Regions from separate parts of the Homo sapiens genome. Here region 2 is linked to region 1. The links are contacts of gene promoters, found by promoter capture Hi-C in human tissues and cell types (Jung and others, 2019). All regions are on one chromosome and are shown on one strand. Each heading gives the region's core, a stretch centred on a gene start or on the middle of the fragment in contact. The rest is flanking DNA. Distances are from core to core; before and after follow the strand shown. Region 1 overlaps ZNF525 (zinc finger protein 525). Region 2 holds the start of DPRX (divergent-paired related homeobox).

What was found. The method cuts DNA at HindIII sites, captures the fragments that hold promoters and counts their contacts. A contact is called where the count stands out against the background at its distance.
Region 2: a contact is called between the fragment with the promoter of DPRX here and a fragment that was not itself captured in region 1, in 4 of the 25 tissues and cell types used here (dorsolateral prefrontal cortex, heart left ventricle, mesenchymal stem cells and 1 more).

What each region holds. Positions count from the first base shown.
Region 1 is chr19:53,377,556-53,383,006 of GRCh38, forward strand. ZNF525 (zinc finger protein 525) reads left to right here. Exons shown (of 4, transcript NM_001348156.2): 4 at 3,167-5,451. The coding sequence ends at 4,464. Among named protein-coding and RNA genes, the nearest start is that of ZNF525, 15 kb to the left of the region's middle. The HindIII fragment of the contact is 5,110 bases long and covers 774-5,451 here.
Region 2 is chr19:53,629,676-53,635,126 of GRCh38, forward strand. It overlaps DPRX (divergent-paired related homeobox), which reads left to right and starts at 2,324. Exons shown (of 3, transcript NM_001012728.2): 1 at 2,324-2,459; 2 at 4,856-5,010. The coding sequence starts at 2,432. It also overlaps the pseudogene RN7SL317P. The HindIII fragment of the contact is 20,441 bases long and covers 1-5,451 here.

The DNA.
Region 1 (5,451 bases), core at 2,079-4,578:
CTTTTTTTTTTTTTTTTGAGATGGAGTCTCGGTCTGTCACTCAGGCTGGAGTGCAGTGGCACAATCTTGGCTAACTGCAACCTCTGCCTCCCAGGTTCAAGCGATTCTCCTGCCTCAGTTTCCCAAGTAGCTGGGACTACAGGCATGTGCCACCACACCAGGCTAATTTTTTGTATTTTTGTTTTTTGTAGAGACGGGGTTTCACTGTGTTAGCAAGAATGGTCTCGATCTCCTGACCTCATGATCCTCCTCCCTCAGCCTCCCAAAGTGCTGGGATTACAGGTGTGAACCACCTCACTCAGCCGGCCTCAAAGTTTTTAAAACATGTTATTGCTATTAGATGGCTTCAAGTATTGCAAAATTTATAGTACAGGCCCTAAACTTCCTTTGTTTAATTAGATTTGTCAGCCTTCAGTGATGTGAATCATGAGATGCTTCTTTTCCTGTCTCAGTCATTTCACTGTCCTGTCAGAAATAGCTTAGACTGGCCAGCTGAGGTGGGTCATGCCTTAATCCCAGCAGTTTGGGATGCTGAGGTGGGCAGATAGCTTGAAGTCAGGAGTTTGAGACCAGTCTGGCCAACATGGTGAAACCTCGAATCTACTAAATACAAGAAATTGGCTAGGTGTAGTGGCTCAAGCCTGTAATCCCAGCACTTTGGGAGGCCGAGAGGGGCGGATCACCTGAGTTAAGGAATTTGAGACCAGCCTGACCAACATGGTGAAACCCTGTCTCTACTAAAAATACAAGAATTAGCTGGGCGTGGTGGCACATGGCTGTTATCCCAAGTACTCGAGAGGCTGAGGAAGGAGAATCTTGAACCCGGGAGGTGGAGGTTGTAGTGAGCCAAGGTTACACCACTGCACTCCAGTCTGGGCACCAAAGTGAGACTACAGGCTGAGGCGGGAGAATCTCTTGAGGCAGGAGAATCGTGCCACTACACTCCAGCCTGGGTGATAGAGCGTGACTCGGTCTCAAAAACAAACAAAAAAAGAAATAGCTTAAACTGGGAGGCTTAAGACACAGAAATTTATTTCTCATGAGTTTGGAAAGTGGGAAATCCAAGAGCAAGGTGCCAGCCACATTGGTTCCTGGTGAGAGCCTTCCTCATGGTTTAGCCCAGCCATCTTCCTGCCATGTCCTGACATGGTGGAAACAGGAACAGGCAACGAGCTCTTTAATGTCTCTTTTTATGAAAGCACAAGTCCTATTCACGAGTAGTCAACACCCGTGACCAAATTGTCTCAAAGGCCCCATCTGCAGGAACATCCTATTGGAGAATAAGAACTCTGAACATGGCGTTTGGCCAATACAAACATTCAGACCAGGGAGCCTGCATCATCTTATTTATGTTTTTATTGTTTAATTTGTTTCATACAATGTTTTCTCTGATCTCAGTTTATAAATTTTCCCAGTACACATTCTATGTTTTATATTTTATGCATAGTGAACTAGATACATAGGGCAATGTATATATATATATAGAATTGCTGTATTGCCTGGCTGTTTCATAAATGTAGTTGTGACATCATAATTGCACCCTCCGGCACTATTAGTCAATTCTTTTTTTTTTTCTTAGAGACGAAGTCTCACCCTGTCACTCAAGCTGGAGTGCAGTGGTGGGACCTTGGCTCACCACAAACTCTACCTCCTGGGTTCAAACGATTCTCTTGCCTCAGCCTTCTGAGTAGCTGAGATTACAGGCACCCGCCACCACACCCAGCTAATTTTTTTGTATTTTTAGTAGAGTTATGGTTTCACCACGTTGGCCAGGCTATTCTTGAACTCCTGACCTCATGGTCTTCCCACCTCGGCCTCCCAAAGTGCTGGAATTACAGGCATGAGCCACTGCACCCGGCTGTTAGTGAATTCTTATTCATTATAATGCTGCATATTTTTTTGACCTCATACATCAGAAGGTAGTGATCTTAACATGTATTTCAGTTCTTATATTGTGTGCTGGTGGTAAGTAGAAGTTGTGCTTTTTTCTTAACAGGGAATTGTTTAGAATTCTGCAGTTTGTATAAATGTACTTATGATTTGCTTGCTGGTTTTATGCGTTACAGTTATTTTACCAATTCATTTTTATGATTTTACATAAAGCTTTTCGGTATGTGGTATGCAATATAACTGACACAGTTTACTAGTTAATGTCACAAAGTGCCAGCGGGTGCTGTGGCTCACGCCTGCAATCCCAGGACTTTGGGAGGCTGAGGCGGGTGGATCACTTGAGGTCAAAAGTTCAAGGCCAGCCTGGCCAATATGATGTAACCCTATCTCTACTAAAAATACAAAAATTAGCCAAGCATGCTGGCATGTGCCTGTAATCCCATGTACTCAGGAGGCTGAGGCAGGAGAATGGCTTGAACCCAAAAGGTGGAGGTTGCAGTGAGCTGAGATCAGGCCATTGCCCTCCAGCCTGTTGTGACACAGTGAAACATTGTCTCAAAAATACAAAAATAAAAAAAAAATTTTAAATGTTACAATATGCCTTTTCTGCATGGATATAGGTAATTTTATGACAGTTATTCAGAAAAATATTTTTTTTTTTTTGAGATGGAGTCTCACTTTGTCATCCAGGCTGAAGTACAGTGGTGCGATCTCGGCTCACTGCAACCTCTGCCTCTTGGGTTCAAGCAATTCTTGTACCTCACCCTTGCGAGTAGCTGGGAGTACAGACGTGCACCACCATGCCTTGCTAAATTTTGTAAACTTTTCTTATCTTCTCAGTGCTATGATTATTTAACAATACAGAATTTCCATTGATTTTGGTTATCCTTACATGAGCTTGCTGTGGATTATTTACCAGTATATTATATTGTGTGGTCCTTTAGTATTTATTTGTATACAGTAAGTATGCTGTAAATATGAAGAATATATACTTTTCATTGATGTGACAGTGATATGTCTTTTGCAAACTGTTAGACACTTTAGGGTCACAGTGGAAAAATACTCCTTATTTTAGGCTTACACATGTTTGTGCCCTTCAGTGTTTTGTCATGATATTGGAAATAAGCTTTCATAATAATAATTTGAAGCACATGTAATCGCCCTTTATTTATTAAAGAATCTTACGATTTTGTGTTCCTAAACTTTGAAGATCATGTTTGGGAAGTTTAAAATCAGTATTGTCTTTTGTGTACCTATTAGTGTTTATATTTTGTAGGTATCTCTTCCAAATGCACAATGAAGGAGTTCTCATCAACAGCACAAGGCAATACAGAAGTGATCCACACAGGGACATTGCAAAGACATGAACGTCATCACATTGGAGATTTTTCCTTCCAGGAAATTGAGAAAGATATTCATAACTTTGAGTTTCAGTGGCAAGAAGATGAAAGAAATGGCCATGAAGCACCCATGACAAAAATCAAAAAATTGATGGGTAGTACAGAGCAATATGATCACAGGCATGCTGGAAACAAGCCTATTAAATATCAGCTTGGATCAAGCTTTCATTCACATCTGTCTGAACTCCACATATTTCAGCCCAAAGGGAAAATTAATAATCAAGTGGAGAAGTCTATCAACGATGCTTCCTCGGTTTCAACAGCCCAAAGAATTTCTTGTAGGCCCAAAACCCATATATCTAATAACTATGGGGATAATTTTCTGAATTATTCATTACTCACACAAAGACAGGAAGTACGCATGAGAGAAAAATCTTTCCAATGTATTGAGAGTGGCAAAGCCTTTAATTATAGCTCACTCTTAAGGAAACATCAGATTATTCATCTAGGAGAGAAACAATATAAATGTGATGTATGTGACAAGGTCTTTATTCGGAAGCGATACCTTGCACGCCATCGTAGATGTCACACTGGTGAGAAACCTTACAAGTGTAATGAGTGTGGCAAGTCCTTCAGTCAGATGTCATCCCTTACATATCATCATCGACTTCATACTGGAGAGAAACCTTACAAATGTGAAGAATGTGACAAAGCTTTCAGACACAATTCAGCCCTTCAAAGACATAGGAGAATTCATACTGGAGAGAAACCACATAAGTGTAATGAGTGTGGCAAGACCTTTAGTCAGAAGTCATACCTTGCATGCCATCGTAGCATTCATACTGGAAAGAAACCTTACGAATGTGAAGAATGTGACAAAGCTTTCAGTTTCAAATCAAACCTTGAAAGTCATAGGATAACTCATACTGGAGAGAAACCATACAAGTGTAATGATTGTGGCAAGACCTTCAGTCATATGTCAACCCTTACATGCCATCGTAGACTTCATACTGGAGAGAAACCTTACAAGTGTGAAGAATGTGATGAAGCTTTCCGTTTCAAATCAAGTCTTGAAAGACATAGGAGAATTCATAATGGAGAGAAACTGTACAAATGTAATGAGTGTGGCAAGACCTTCAGTCAGGAGTTATCCCTTACCTGCCATTGTAGACTTCATAGTGGAGAGAAACCTTGCAAGTGTGGAGAATGTGACAAGGCTTACAGTTTCAAATAAAATCTTGAAATACGTCAGAAAATTCATACTGGAGAGAAATGTTATAAGTGTAATGATTGTGGCAAGATCTTCAGTCATACGTCATCCATTGTATACCATCATAAATTTCATAGTGGAGAGAAACCTTACAAATGTGAAGAATGTGATGAAGCTTTCAGTTTCAAATCAAACCTTGAAAGACATAGGAGAATTCACACTGGTGAGAAACCTTACAGGTGTAATAGGTGTGGCAAGACCTTCAGTCATACATCATCCCTTACATGCCATCATAGACTTCATACTGGAGAGAAACCTTACAAATGTGAAGAATGTGATGAAACTTTCAGATACAAATCAAATCTTGAAAGACATAGGAGAATTCATAATGGAGAGAAACCGTACAAGTGTAATGAGTGTGGCAAGACCTTCAGTCAGAAGTCATGCCTTACACGCCATCATAGACTTCATACTGGAAATAAATCTTATAAGTGTAATGAGTGTGGCAAGACCTTCAGTAAGGAGTTAACACATGCCATCATAGACGTCATACTGGAGAGAAACCTTAGAAGTGCAATGAGTGTGGCAAAACCTTTCATAGGCAGTCAGCGCTTATTTACCATCAAGCAATCCATGGCAGAGGGAAACTTTACAAATGTAATGATTGTCACCACGTCTTCAGTAATGCTACAACTATTGCAAATCATTGGAGAATCCATAATAAAGAGAGACCTTACAAGTGTGATAAATGTGACAAATTTTTCAGACATCGTTCATACCTTGCAGTTCACGGGCGAACTCATGCTGGAGAGAAACCTTACAAATGTGAAGAATGTGATAAAGCTTTCAGATTCAAATCAAACCTTGAAAGTCATAGGAGAATTCATACTAGAGAGAAACCTTACAAGTGTAATGAGTGTGGTAAGATGTTCAGTCAAAATTCGGCCCTTGTAATTCATAAGGCAATTCATACTGGAGAGAAACCTTACAAGTGTAATGAATGTGGCAAGG
Region 2 (5,451 bases), core at 1,074-3,573, 250 kb after region 1:
ATGTCTTATTCACCTCTAAAGATATACTGTTCATCAGGCCGGGTGCAGTGGCTCACACCTGTAATCCCAGCACTTTGGGAGGCTGAGGCGGGAGGATGGCTTGAACCCAGGAGTTCTAGGCTGTAATGTGCTCTGCCAATTGGGCATCCACACTAAGTTCGGCATCAATATGGTGACCTCCCACCAGGTTGCCTAAGAAGTGGGGAAATGGTCTAGGTTGAAAATGGAGCAGGTCAAAATTTTCATGCTGGCTGGGCACAGTGGCTCACACATGTAATCCCAGCACTTTGGGAGGCCAAGGCAGATGGATCACCTGAGGTCAGGAGTTTGAGACCAGTCTGGCCAACATGGTGAAACCCTGTCTCTACTAAAAATACAAAAAAAAAAATTAGCTGGGCATGGTGGCATGTGCCTATAATCCCAGCTATTTGGGAGGCTGAGGCAGGAGAGTTGCTTGAACCCAGGAGGCAGAGGTTGCAGTGAGCCGGGATCACGCCACTGCACTCTAACCTGGGCGACAGAGTGAGACTCCATCTCAAAAAAAAAAAAAAAAACTTTCATGCTGATCAGTAGTGGAATCAGCTTGTGAATTGCCCTCCAGCCTGAGCAACACAGACTGCCTCTTACTAATCCCAGCACTTTGGGAGGCTGAGGTGGGAGGATGGCTTGTGCCTAAGACTTTGAGACTAGCCTAGCCAAAATCCCTTCTCTACAAAAAATGCAAAAATTAGCTGGGTATGGTAGTGTGCACCTGTAGTCCCAGTTACTCAGGAGGCTTAGGTGAGAGGCTCACCTAGGCCCAGGAGGTTAAGGCTGCATTGAGCTATGATTTTGCCACTGCACTCCAGGCTGGGCCTAGGCCTTTGTAGTCACAGCTACTTGGGGGCAAATGTAGGAGGATCACTTGAGCCCAGTAGGTCGAGGCTGCAGTCAGCTGTGTTTTTTGAGACATAGCAAGACCCTGTCTCAAAAAGAAAAAAAAAAGTAGCTACAAGCTCATTTATGCAAAGGCTAACCACTGTCACAAGTAGAGATGTGCAGAACTGAGATTCAAATGGATGGAATGGCAAGAAAAACTGCCACTTCTGTGAACCTGAAGTCAAACTGCCCTTGTCGTCAAGATAAAAGGTATACATGGTGTGAGCCTGGGCATCTGAAAGGTGTTGCAGCTTTTTCTTTTATTTTTTTGAGATGGAGTCTCACTCCTGTCACCCAGGCTGGAGTGCAGTGGTGCGATCTCAGCTCACTGCAACCTCTGCCTCCTGGGTTCAAGCAATTCTCCTGCCTCAGCCTCCTGAGTAGCTGGGATTACAGGTGCCCACCACCACACCCAGCTAATTTTCGTATTTTTAGTAGAGATGGGGTTTCGCCATGTTGGCCAGGCTGGTCTCGAACTCCTGACCTCAGGTGATCCGCCTGCCTCAGCCTCCCAAAGTGCTGGGATTACAGGTGTGAGCCACCTGTAATTAGCCAGGCTTGGTGGTGGGTGCCTGTAATCCCAGCTACTGGGAAGGCTGAGGCAGGAGAATTGCTTGAACCTGAGAGGCGGAGGTTGCTGTGAGCCGAGATCGTGCCACTGCACTCCAGCCTGGGTGACAGAGTGAGACTCCATCTCTAAATAAATAAATAAATAAATAAAATGAGATGATTTCTGAGTGAGTTAACTAAATCAGGATATGCAGAACAATGCCAAGCATATATTAGCCACTAAAGAATATATAAGTTGCCTGAAAGCCCCTTTAGGGTTTAAACCTGGACTTCATTATTCACAATCACATTCCCGGTCCCCATTACGGAGCCTGGTCACCTGGGTGCTTGTTAGATATGGAAATCATCAGATCCCACCCCAGACCGAGTCAGAAACGTTGAGGGCAGGAGTTCAAGACCAGCCTGGCCAACATGGCGGAAACTCCGTCTCTACTAAAAATACAAAAATTAGTCAGGAGTGGTGGCACAGGCCTGTGATCTCAGCTACTCGGGAGGCTGAGACATGAGAATCCCTTGAACCTGGGAGGCAGAGGCTGCAGTGAGCCAAGATGGTGTCATTGCGCTCCAGCCTGGGTGACAGAGTGGGACTCTGTCTCAAAGAAAAAGAAAAAAAGAAAAGAAATTGCAGCTTCTGCTCAGGAAGTCTGGAGTGGGCCAGGATTCTGCATTTTAACAACTCCCAGGAGTGTTAGTGGGGCTGGTTTGTGGACTCGCCTTTGAGTCGTTGGTCTCCGCTCAATCAATATTAGATAAAATGACAGTATTGGGAGAAATCCAGGGGGCTCTGGAGGACCGAGGGATCATATTGGAGGCAGATAGGGCAGAGAAAGGTGGAGGAGGTGGGAGTCGGGTGTGGCTGTGGAGGAAGCTACTTAAATCCGGATTTGATCTTTGCTAGTTCTTATCCCTGGACCTGAACCCAGGCGCACATCTGGATTAGAAGATGCCAGGCTCAGAGGATCTTCGTAAAGGTAAGCCAGAAAAAATGAGAACCGAAGCAAAGACACGTGAAGAAGTGGAAAGCAGCTGGCGGCGGGAAAAGGCAGAGGGACCAGGCGGCCGAAGCTGGTGCTTCGTCCACGTGGGTGGCAGGGACTTCCCACAGAGGCTGTCATCGTTTTTGTTGTTGTTGTTTTGTTTTGTTTTGTTTGTCTTTTGAGACAGTCTCACTCTGTCGCTCAGGCTGGAGTGCAGTGGCACGATTTCGGCTCACTGCAACCTCCACCTCCCAGGTTCAAGCAATTCTCCTGCCTCAGCCTCCCGAGTAGCTGGGATGACAGGCACACGCCACCACACCTGGCTAATTTTTTTTTTTTTTGTATTTTTAGTAGAGCCGGGGGTTTCACCATATTGACCAGGCTGGTCTCGAACTCCTGACCTTGTGATCCGTCTGGCTCAGCCTCCCAAAGTGCTGGGGTGACAGGCGTGAGCCACTGCACCCGGCCCAAGTTTTGTATCTTTATAGAGATGGGGTTTCACCATGTTAGCTAGGTTGGTCTCAAGCCCCTGACCTCATGTGATTGGCTGGCCTCGGCCTCCCAAAGTGCTGGGATTACAGGCATGAGCCTCGGTGCCCGGCCGCGGCTGTCATCTGACAGCACAGGCAAATGCAGGGAAGCCTGTTTCTGCCTTCAAATCCGAAATCTTCTCCCTCGTAGTTGTGTCCTAATTCTTCCCACCCCGATGCTTGTTCTTGAGCACAGGGGAATCTGATTCCTATGAGGATGATTAGGTCCTAGATAGAATATAGGCTTAGCCAAGCTGGAAATCTCATGTTCATGAGCACTTACTAGACTCTGGAGCTGCTGCCAAACCATTTTCAGGCATGATGCGATTCAGATCTTTTAGAGCGAGGCATGCGGTGGCTCATGCCTGTAATCCCAGCACTTTGGGAGGCCGAGGTGGGCAGATCGCTTCAGCCCAGGAGTTCAAGACCAGCCTGGGCAACAAAACAAGACGTTGTCTCTACAAAAAATACAAAAATTAGCCGGGCATGTCAGTGTTGTGTAGTTCCAGCTACTCGGGAGGCTGAGGTGAGAGGATCGCTTGAGCCTGGGGAGGTTGAGGCTGAAGTGAGCTGTGATCATGCCACTGGGCAACACAGCAGTACACTGTCTCAAGAAAAAGAAAGTAAAAGGTGACATCCGTGACAGCAGTGATGTTATTTTTCTGCTTATTTCCTTGCTATATTCCTAAAAGAATATACTTAATGAACATTGAATAAATGATAAGAATAAAACCATGTCCATCCATTTCACCTTGGATTGAGTTGCCTATTTCTACACAAAGAAAATAGAACCCAAGAGGTAAGGCACAAGCGATCCCTTATTTACGTATTTATTTATTTATTTATTTATTATTTTCTTGAGACAGGGTCTCCCTCTGTCTCAGGCTGGAGTGCAGTGGCATAATCTCGGCTCACCACAGCCTCTGCCTCTGAGGTTCAAGCGATTCTCCTGCCTCAGCCTCCCGAGTAGCTGGGACTACAGGCGTGCACCATCACGCCCAGCTAATTTTTGTACTTTTAGTAGAGACAGGGTTTCACCATGTTAGCCAGAATGGTCTTGATCTCTTGACCTCATGATCCGCCCGCCTTGGCCTCCCAAAGTGCTGGGATTACAGGCATGAGCCACTGTGCCCGGCCAAATTTTTGTGTTTTTAATAGAGATGGGGTTTCACCATGCTGGCCAGGCTGGTCTCAAACTCATGACCTGATATGATCTGCCCGCCCTGGCCTCCCAAAGTGCTGGGATTACAGGCGTGAGCAAGGGATCCCATATTTAAATGATAACAGAAAAAAAGGATGGAGGAACCAAGGGGGAAAGGAACAACCTTTTCCTATGAAAATGACAAATGAGGCTTGGAAAAACAAGGACAAAAGGCAGATCAAGTTGTCCTCCCGCTTCAGCCTCCCACAGTACTGGGACTGCAGCCTGAGGCACGACCCCGGCCAGCAGTGTCTCCATATCTAAGAACCTCAGTCACGGCCGGGCACAGTGGCTCACGCATGTAATCCCAACACTTTGGGAGGCCGAGGCGGGTGGATCACCTGAGGTCAGGAGTTCGAGACCAGCCTAGCCAACATGGTGAAACCCTGTCTCTGCTAGAAATACAAAAATTATCCGGGCATGGTGGCGTGCGCCTGTAATCCCAGCTACTCGGGAGGCTGAGGCAGGAGAATCGCTTGAACTCAGGAGGTGGAGGTTGCAGTGAGCTGAGATTGTGCCACTGCACTCCAGCCTCGGTGACAGAACCTCAGTCACTTGATCATCACGTTGTACCTCAGTGGAAAGGAAAGGAAAGCTCAGGCTTTTGAGAATGGAGTTGTTAGCATTTCCCATTTGTGTCTTTTTCCTCCTCTTTCAAGGCAAGGACCAGATGCATTCACACAGGAAACGAACCATGTTCACTAAGAAGCAACTGGAAGATCTGAACATCTTGTTCAATGAGAACCCATACCCAAACCCCAGCCTTCAGAAAGAAATGGCCTCGAAAATAGACATACACCCAACAGTACTGCAGGTTGGAAAATGATCCCTCTTCTCACTAAACTGCCTTCCTGATCTAATCTAAATTCAGAGTCCCTCTAGGATAATTCCTGAGGTCTCATTCCAATCGCCAATATTCCCCAAACCCACACTCTCCTACTCACGTCCCCGTAAACCTTTCTTCAACCCCCTAGAGCAAGAATGGGAAAATTTTTCCAGTAAAGGACCAGGTAGTAAATAATTGAAGCTTTGTGGGCCATACCGTCTCTCTAGCAACTATTTTAACTATGCCACCACAGTGCGAAGGCAGCCACAGACAACGTAAACAAGAGGCCCATCTGTGTTCCCAGAAACTCTTTTACTCAGGTTGGAGCACGGTGGTGCAATCACAGCTCACTGCAGCCTCGACCTCCCGGGCTCAAGCAATCCTACCACCTCAGCACCCCAAGTAGCTGGGACTACAGGTCTACAGGTG